2 separate regions of the Homo sapiens genome follow, and region 1 is linked to region 2. The links are contacts of gene promoters, found by promoter capture Hi-C in human tissues and cell types (Jung and others, 2019). All regions are on one chromosome and are shown on one strand. Each heading gives the region's core, a stretch centred on a gene start or on the middle of the fragment in contact. The rest is flanking DNA. Distances are from core to core; before and after follow the strand shown.

Region 1 (4,447 bases), core at 1,466-3,965, 55 kb after region 2:
AGATGATGGTGGACAAGGATGGCACAGGTCTGTTCTGTCCTGGAGGGTTCCTACCCTCAGAAGCCTGCAGGATGGTTAGGAGCTAAGAGAAATTCTAGGGCATTCAGGGAAGGCTTCTTATAGGAAGTGGGATAGAGCTGGCCTTTGGGAATGGGAAGGATCTGACCAAGGGAATGTGAGATCCAAAGCTAGAATGTATCTGTGGGACAGGACTTGACCACCAGCCACGTGGCCTCATGGGTGTGCCCATCTTGGTAGAGTAGAACTGTCCCATCTTACCCCAGATCCCTGGGCAGGTGCCCCCATCCAGGTCATGGTGTATTTCTGCTTCCTAGAGTCATCCCCTCCATGCCCCACACAGCATTTCAGAAAGTCCTTTGCTAGCATCCTCAGGCTTATTTTCTCTATTCCCAGGGCTTTGTGGTGGCTGTTCTCTACTGTTTTCTGAATGGTGAGGTAAGACCTTGGCCCTCTGGCTTCTTGGCAGTGGAAGTGGGGCTTTCTGGGGAGCAGACAGGGGAACCACCTGTTGGCCACATGGGACTGACTCTTCAGAGAGGGCTCTGCCAGGCTCCCAGCACTGAGAGGAGGGGCTGGTCATACAGCTCCTGGCATTGTGTGGTGCCAGGACCTCCTGATACCCACACCCTGTGCTGGAATCTGTCCCACTTTGCCAGCTGTGCAGCTAAGGCCCCACCCAAAGAGCAAAGCTCCTGGTAAAAGCGTCGGCTCTGCTGAGCGCAGATCTCCCTGGGAGGGTCCTCTCCATAAGACACTCCGTGGTGAGGAGGAATTGACAATAAGGAAGGGTGGGGCACAGGACATAGGACCTACAGGCCATGAGGCTGTGCTAGGCAGAGCTGCTGAGCCAGGAGCTGCCTGGCACTCAGGGTTGCCCTTAACTGGCCAGCCAGCCTGGCCCAAACTGTCCCCTGGTAGAAGGGAGACTGTGAGAATTTGGAAGAGACCCCAGGGAGAGACCTGGAACCTTCTATTAATACTCCATTGCCAGAGCTGTGGTTCGGGGGCTCCCTCTGTACCCTATTGGGGTAAAGCGCTTGAGCACAACCCAAAACAGAGGTGCTGGGGCAGCGGTGGGGACTGAATGGCTAGGGTGGATTTGAGAGTAGGCGGGAGTCTTTGCACCAGTGCTTGGGTCTTAGCTGCATCACCTTGGCAGGCTCCTCCCTCTTTTGCATCTGAGCAACAGAGATTGGGCTCTGTGATCGCCCAGACAACCTACAGAAGGATCAGATTAGGACAGACAAGAGAGGCAGAAAGGGCCCTGCAGGTAGTGGCCAGGAGAGCTTAGAAGTGGGCATGTATGTAGCTTGTTCAGAGCTTGCAGTGAAAGTAGGAGCTGGAACTGGAGAGGGTGGGTGTAGGCGCTGCTTCCAGTTGTGCAGTCTGTGCACTGCACGAAGGTGCTTGACTGAGAAGGCACATGGAGGCTGAGACTCAGCATGGCCCCCACTCACCATGCTAAGAGCTACATGGGTGTGTGTTTTCCCAGAGGGGTGCATTATTTAATGGTTCTCAACCCTGACTGGGAAGCTTTAAAAAATATGATGTCTGGGTCTTGTGCAGAACTTTTGATATAATTGTTCTGGGGTATGGCCTGGGCATCTGGAATTTTTAAAGCCCCCCAGGTAATTCTAATGTGTAGCCCACTCTTACTGGTCAGCCAAGAGTGGGGATCCTTTCCTGATCCACCTGCCCTGTGGGACTGCTTGTTAAAGATTTCCTGAAGGACCCAATGGACTATTCTCTGCCTGGCCTGAAAACAACAGGGAGCCATTAGAGGGCCTTGCTCAGAAAGTGGCAAGGGAAGGGGCTGTTCCGGTCAGCTCCTCAGAGGCTTCCTTGCCTACAGCTGCTAAAAGCCCCCACTGGAGACCTTGAGGGCCGCAGGCTGCAACTGGGGAGTGGGGAGGGTGCTGAGGGTGGCACTGCCAGCCTGGGAAGGGCCCCAGGCCAGGACAGGGCCTGGAGGCTGCAGAGGATGTCCATCTGGAAGTGACCGCCCAGTTTGCTCCCTGCAGGTACAAGCGGAGATCAAGCGAAAATGGCGAAGCTGGAAGGTGAACCGTTACTTCGCTGTGGACTTCAAGCACCGACACCCGTCTCTGGCCAGCAGTGGGGTGAATGGGGGCACCCAGCTCTCCATCCTGAGCAAGAGCAGCTCCCAAATCCGCATGTCTGGCCTCCCTGCTGACAATCTGGCCACCTGAGCCATGCTCCCCTCCTCCTCCTCTCCTCCATCCACAGGCTGGGACCGCAGGCAGGTGCCAGCCCACGCATGTTTGCGCCTCTTCCCTCCCCTTGGGCAGGCCCTGGGCTGGAAGCTTGGCTCCTGAGGGGGGAGAAGGAGGCAGGGCACAGACTGGAATTGTCCCCTCCTTGTTTTGGTACTGGTCCCACCCACTGTGGTCCCCTGGGCCCTGACCCCAGACATGTAAATACTCCTCAAATTTGGAAAAGTTGTCCCATCCCTTCCCCCTTTGCCCCAGTGTCCCTGCTCACTTCCAGTCAGGTCTCAGCTCCACCCCACTGTTTCTTGGTCAGCCTCAGTGATGGCCTGACCCCAGCTGTGAGGCCTTGTGAGCTAAGGCTGAAGAGACCTTGCCTGTGGGAGCTGGGGTGGTACCTGCCCCAACAGCCCCCCATCATCTGATTTTGGGTGTGACCCCTCGAGTGTGCATGCCACCCTGGGGCTCTTCTCAGTCCTGGGCCCAAGTCCCTGAAGCCTAGCAGAGGGCCAGCTCGGGTGGCCAGAACACCCCTTGGTGCAGGCCTCCTGGCACTCGCCTGGCATCTTGGTGTCCGGGTGCTCAGCTCCTGGGTCCCAGGGCAGTGGGACAGCTCCCAGGCTCTTCTCATCAGAGACTTCAGTTTGGGTGGGGAGTCTGCAGGTCAGGGAAGGTTCTGGTGCTTTTCGTTTGATCCAAAAGGAGCTGAGAGCCAGAAATGTGGCTGTGATTGCGAAAGAGACGGAGTTTGGGAGACCCATGGAAGAAAACCTTCGCCATCTCCATTGTTTTACCCCCAGCTCAAGATGGACAGGGTTCTTCTGGTCATCTCCCTTCCACCTCTTCCACCCTCATGGATGCCTTCCAGAAGCTGTCTCCAACCATGCACACCACAGAGAGCCCTTAAGCCCTCCCCTCCCCATTTCCCCTAAGTCAAAGCCATGACTAGGATGTACCAGCCACCTGCCTCTGATGTCGGCGAATCCTGAAGCACCTGCACCCGAATCTGGGGCCCAGGGCTGCCCGACCCCCACTCCCATGGATGATGAGGAGCCCCAGACACCAGCTCCTCTGGCCTGGACTCAACTATTGAAATCTCTCTGAGACCTCTGCAAAGATGTCCCTTTTATGCCCTTGACCTTGACTCACCATGGGCTGCTGGGGTGTCGGGAGAAGCCACACCCAACATGCCCATTAGCAGAGGCTGCTGCTGATGTGGCAGCTGCTCCCTACCACCCGCCCTGGCTCCCCAGCTGCAGGTTGCACACCCTCAGCCTGAGAATGTAAAATAGGGCAGTGCCCAGCTGGGGAGGTAGAGGAAAGTGCTAGAGTACATGGTCCGTGTGTGGCCTAGCTCATTCCATGTCAGCATTTGGTGTTACTCCTGTCCAAATTCTGTTTGCAGACTTGTTTCATGATGATGCTCTGGAATGCTTGGGGACTTTGGGTGGAGGAGGATGTTACTTCATTTTATAAAGAGGAAGGGGCCTGGGAGACTTGGGAAAATGTTTCTGGAGAGGCTTTCAGAGTGGCTGGAAAAGGCTCTTGTTGCTGTAATTTAGAGAGGAGCTCTGTGTCCTTGGCCAGTCAAGTAAGTTCCTGGATCTTTGGCAAAGCCAGAGGAAGAAAGGAGCTACCTGCCCTTTCCTGGGCATGCTTGGTGACTCAGATTGATCTTGGAGTGTGCAGTGGCCCTTCTACCCTGCACCTGACCTCATGATCCCCTCCACCTGCACTGGTGTGCATTACTGAAGCAAGGGTCCTGTGGACATCTTGCATTTTGGGCACTGCTAGGGGGTCTGGGCTGCTTGGAAGGAGCCATGGCCTAGGGTTCAGGGAACTAGACTCTATCCCAGTTGGGTTCAGACTGCTGTGACTGTGGACACGATGCTCCTTGTTCTGGGCTCCAGTTTTCCCATTTGTGAGATGAGGCAACTTCCAATGCTTCTCTAGGCCCTGCACGTAAGTGATTTTTCCAGTTCAAAGTCAAGACAGGTAAAAGGGCATTCATCATTGTGCCTCATATCAGGTTTTGATGAATATATGTGTGTGTGTGTGTGTGTGTGTGTGTGTGTGTGTAGAGGGATGGACAGGATGCTGTTTATTTTCCCTTTCTTGGAAATGGACCTTCTGTCCCTTCCATTTGGACACCACAGTGGAAGCTGGTGGCCTGGAAGGAAGGATTAGGTCATGGACAT
Region 2 (4,661 bases), core at 1,908-4,407:
GCACATTAGCATCCCCTGGGGAGTTGTAAAACATTCTCTTGCCCAGGCCTCACCATGGACCAATTGTCTAATTATCTTGGGTGGTGAGGCCTGGGTGTAGGTATTTTTTAAAAGCTCCCCGGGGGGATTCTGTAGCGCCCGGAGGGTTGACAAGCACTGGTGCAAGACATGGTGAGCATTCGGTCGATGTCAGCTGTCTACAATAAAGCACCTGGGTCCTTGTGTGTGCTGTTCTTGCCTGAGCAGCGTAAAAGCTGGAGTGGGGTGGGGTAGAGTGGGGTGGGCTGGGGTGGGAGCCCTGTAGTCAGGGAGGAAACTGTTGCTTAGGAAAGATGAATGCTGGGTAGGGTGGCCTGGCATCCATCTCCCTCAGCCACGTCTCAGAAAATTGAATTAAAACCCATATTTTTCAGCTGCTGCCCGCCTGGCTGGCTGGCTTGTGGAAGGGAGTGAGGCAGTGAGCACCTCAAGGCAGGGAAAAGCTGGTGAGGGGGGCCCCCAGCCTCCTTCCCTAGGAGACAGAAGGCAGCCCAAGGGGTCCTCTGAGAGAAGACCCTTCCCAGGGGTGGTCCCTTGGCCTCAGGTCTTCCCAAAGCCAGGCACGTAGGGGTAGGGTGGGAGTGGTAGGCTGGCTGGCTTACAAGGTCAGAGCTAGATCTGGAGGTGAAGTTGATTTTTTGGGTGAATGGGTGGGGAGGCAGAGAAGAGGGGCCTGTCCCTGGGGAGGCCTAATCTCAGGGAACAGAATTGGCATAGCTCCTCTTCCAAGATTATTTGGAGAGACCACAGTGGCATGCCTGTGACAGGCGGAGAACAGCGCAGGACGTGAAAGCCTGAGTGGCTTCCAGAATTAAGGGGGTGGGAAGAGCTCACAAGGTAGAACAACACTAAGTTGGGCAGCAGGATAAGATTTCTGATAAGAAAGTTGCCTGTGTGTCCTTGGGCTAGTCTTGTTGCCCCTCTGGGCTAAGGTACCCCACCCATAGAGAAGGAGACTAGACAACCCTCCTGGATCCCAGCTCTAATGTGTGTTCCATGCCTCACCCAGGCTGATGCTACTCGGGGGGCTGGAATTAGAATCGAAATCTACGAGGGCTGCTAGCCTACACGGCATCTTTAAGACAGTTAGAGAGGTGCCGCCTCCAGGTGAATCCACTAGAAAAAACTGCCCTTTTTGGGTAGATGGGGGCATGCCTGGTTTGGTGGGCAGTGGGTAGAGCAGGATCTGGATTTCCAGCCCCACTGGCCCCTTCCAGGGGATCTGGAACCCGCAGTGGAAACTGGAGAACCAAGAGTACGGAAAGAGAATAAATCTGGAACTGAGTGCTGAACTTCAAAGTAGGGGGGCCTCTATCTGGAAGCCTGGCCATCCACATTCCCAGGATGGGCTGGTCTGCCATAGATGACCTTGATCTTCACCCTTCCTCTCACTCCCAGGCCCTCTACGTCCTGCACTCTGAGTCCCTCTTGACTCTGAGACTCCTGGCAGCCTCCTTTCCCTCACACTTAGTTTCACAGTTTATAGAGAGTTTTTATACACATCATCTCATTTGATCTTCACAACACCAGAGTTGGAGGCAGATGAAGAAAGCGGCTCTCAGCTCTCAGGGGTTAGGGCAACAAGCTAAGAAGGGGTTAGCCAGGATTAAAGGGAGGTCCTGTCTGTGTCTGATTTTAGCACAGCACCTGGCCCTTTTCTCTCCATTATTTCTTCTCTCCTTTCTCTTCATTCTTTCTTGATATAGATAAGACTGATATTCTCCTCCACCAGGAAGCTCTCCTGGACTGAAAGGAACATGAACCAATCAGACTACCAGTGTGTTGTGTCAATGGGGGTCAGCGGTCATTGGTCAGTAAAGAGAAACATGGACCTAGGAACCTCCACGCGTCTTTCTGGGCCCTCAGATTGCTTCTTTCAAGTTTCCATATGGATTCCTCTCCATCCACAGGTCCTTTCCTCTTTGGTAGACTGGCGACCCCAAAGGAAGGCTCAAGGCTCTCCCTCCTCCTTCCCCCTTCTTGAGGCCTCCTGGACAAGGTGGCCATACCTAGAACTTGGACCCAAAGGGAAGCTGAGCGAGAATTTACTTGAATGGGCAAGAACAGAGCCTGGCTGCAGAACTGAGAGCTCTCAGAGACTGACGCCTGAGGCAGGGACCAAAAACCGAGAGCAGAGGCAGGCAGGAGCAGCTGTGGGATGGGGGCTGGGTGGGGTGGGCAGAGGGTGAGAACTTGCCTGGGAGTGGGTAACTAACTACTCTCAGTTAAGTTTGGGCTTCGCTGCCAACCCGCTAGGCCACCTTTACCTGTGTAGTTCTCCTTATTAAGCCATTTGCACTAGGAGGAGGTTGGACAGGACTGTAATAACAGTAGCAATAGTAATTTATTCAGCATCGGCGAATCAATGATACCAGGGAGAAACTACTATGGGGTGAGTGTACCATTTTTATTTAATGCTGCTGTGAAGAGACCTGGGGGCCGGTACTATTGTTCCCTTGTGCAGATGAAGAAGCTGAAGCTCAGAGAGGCTGAGCCACTTACCCAAGCTCACAGAGCTGTGGCACAGCAGGGACTGGAGCCAGGCAGTCTGATATTTTAAGTTGCCTCTGTCCTGTAAGCACCACCATCCCCTTCCTGGTCTTTCTCCGGGGGCGGGGGGGTCACATTGGAGGACATCCCGACAGGCACCCCAAAACTAGCTGACCCTCCCAGGCCTGGGCGGTAGGGGCAAAGAAGAGCCCAAGGAGGGTCTGAGACTTGCCTGGTAAGGAAGGCTTCTTGGAGGAGAGGGAAGACAGGCTCTGATACACAGGAAATCTTGAGGACCTAGGGAGAAGAAAGAAGGCTTTCTAGTCCTGGCTATGATGGAGAGACTGGAAAGAGGGTGGTGAGCCCAGGAGGCCCAGAGTCAGAGGAGACGGGGATGACAGGGGGCTGAGGGCTCCACCTCAGCGCCCCCGACCCCCGCCGCTGGGATTTCCCGCCGCAGCTCCTGCTCCAGTCTGTGCTGCGGGTGGGGTCGGGTTGAGCAGCCCGGCGCCCCCCACCGCGCCCCCCACCGCACCGCCCTCGATCTAACCCCGCCCCCGGGCGCTCATTGGCCTGCAGCACCCCCTCCCCAGCCTGTGAAGTGAGCAGGGGGAGGCGGTGGTCGGTCGCCTCCCTCCAGCGCCCAGCCTGGCTTCGCGGCGGAGGCGGCGCCTCTCCCGCAGGACGGAGCCAAGCTGGACTGCCGCGCCGCGCGGGGCGGGCAAAGGGGGCGCTGCGCTCGGCCCCGGGCAGGGAGTGACGGCGGCGGCGGCGGCTCCGGGCGAGCGTGGTCCCCGCGTGCGCACACGCACACGCCGCCGCGCAGGGACACACGGACCCCGGCCGCCAGCCGGCCACACAGGCGCGGAGACCCGGCTCGGCGCGCGCTCCTCGGCGCACACGCTCCCCATCCCCGCGCCGCGCGGGCCGCGGACTTGCAGGCTGCGCGTCCTTTGCGGAGTCTGCCCCGGCCCCACGGACAGGCCCCGCAGTGAGCAGGTAAGGGTCGCCCCGCCGCGGCTGCCCCTCCACGCCTCGGCCGTCTTCTCCCCCTCCAGAACCTTCGCCCAGCCGGGACCTCGGATCCCCTCCTCTGGCTTGGCGGTCTCCGCCAGCCGCGACCTCCACCGACGGAGAGCGGGCGAGGGCCGGCGCCAGGCAAGCCTCCCAGATCTGAAATGAAGCCCCCTCCCGCCGCTGCGCCCTTCCTGCGCGTCAGGCTGACACCCCCCAACCCAAGTGTCTGGCGCTGCGCTCGGGGCGGCCGATCGCCGCAGACTGCCGGGGTGGGGGTCGACCTAGCTATCTCACGCCCCTCCTGATGCGGAGAAGGGAGACCAGGGGGGCAGGCAAGCCATGCGGCCGGAGGGACCCGGAGGGACATGCCTCCCTACCCTTAGGTGGACGGACGCACCTACGCGGATCGGGAAGGCAGGGCTGGAGGGTCCCCCGGGGCTAGGTACCGCAATCCGCACGGGGTTTGAGGGGTGGGCAAGCAATGTGCTAGGTGGGGGTTGGGGTAGGGGCCAGTGTAGAATGCCCCTCTGTGGTGACACATCCGGGATTGTTCAAAAGAGTGTCGTCTTCGTTTCCCGTGGCGCGGAGGGGCTGGGGTTGGGGATGCCAGGGCTTCAGTGGTCCCCAGAAGAAACGCCCTGCGGGGTCTGTGGGGAAACGCACCGGCCTTCCCAGGTTGAAGTGGGCCCGCTGAGACCCCTGCCTGCCGCTTTAGAGGCAGAAGCTCCTGCGGCGGCTGCGGGGGGCGGAGGCCACATCCTCGGCGGGACCTTGGCAGGTTAGGGGGCTCAGAAGGGACAGGGGAGCCGATGGATGCAACTAGACCCTCAGGAGGGAACCCAGCCGGAAGCCGATTGCATTTCACGTGGAGCTGAGGAGGGGAGCCTCACCCCTGGATGGAGCTCAGCCCCTTTTTGGAAGATGGGGGTGGGGTGGTGGACACCTGCTAATTCTTCCGACCATTTTTATGTTTTTGAGTGCAGGTGCGTCAGACTCCCTTTATCTTCCCCAGCCTTACAATGTCCCGCAAAGCCCCCCTGGCCCTCTCCAAGACACAGCATTTGGCTCTTCCCATGAGCGGCCCTGGGGAGGAGTTGGGGGATGGGAAGGGGCTG

What was found. Contacts are between HindIII fragments. The study calls those that stand out against the background at their distance.
Region 1: a contact is called between a fragment that was not itself captured here and the fragment with the promoter of ADCYAP1R1 in region 2, in 2 of the 25 tissues and cell types used here (dorsolateral prefrontal cortex and spleen).

The regions. Positions count from the first base shown.
Region 1 is chr7:31,104,454-31,108,900 of GRCh38, forward strand. ADCYAP1R1 (ADCYAP receptor type I) reads left to right here. Exons shown (of 16, transcript NM_001118.5): 15 at 415-456; 16 at 2,043-4,447. The coding sequence ends at 2,231. Among named protein-coding and RNA genes, the nearest start is that of ADCYAP1R1, 54 kb to the left of the region's middle. RefSeq lists an enhancer at 1,608-2,403. The HindIII fragment of the contact is 5,427 bases long and covers 3-4,447 here.
Region 2 is chr7:31,049,151-31,053,811 of GRCh38, forward strand. It overlaps ADCYAP1R1 (ADCYAP receptor type I), which reads left to right and starts at 3,158. Exons shown (of 16, transcript NM_001118.5): 1 at 3,158-3,528. The HindIII fragment of the contact is 8,235 bases long and covers 1-4,661 here.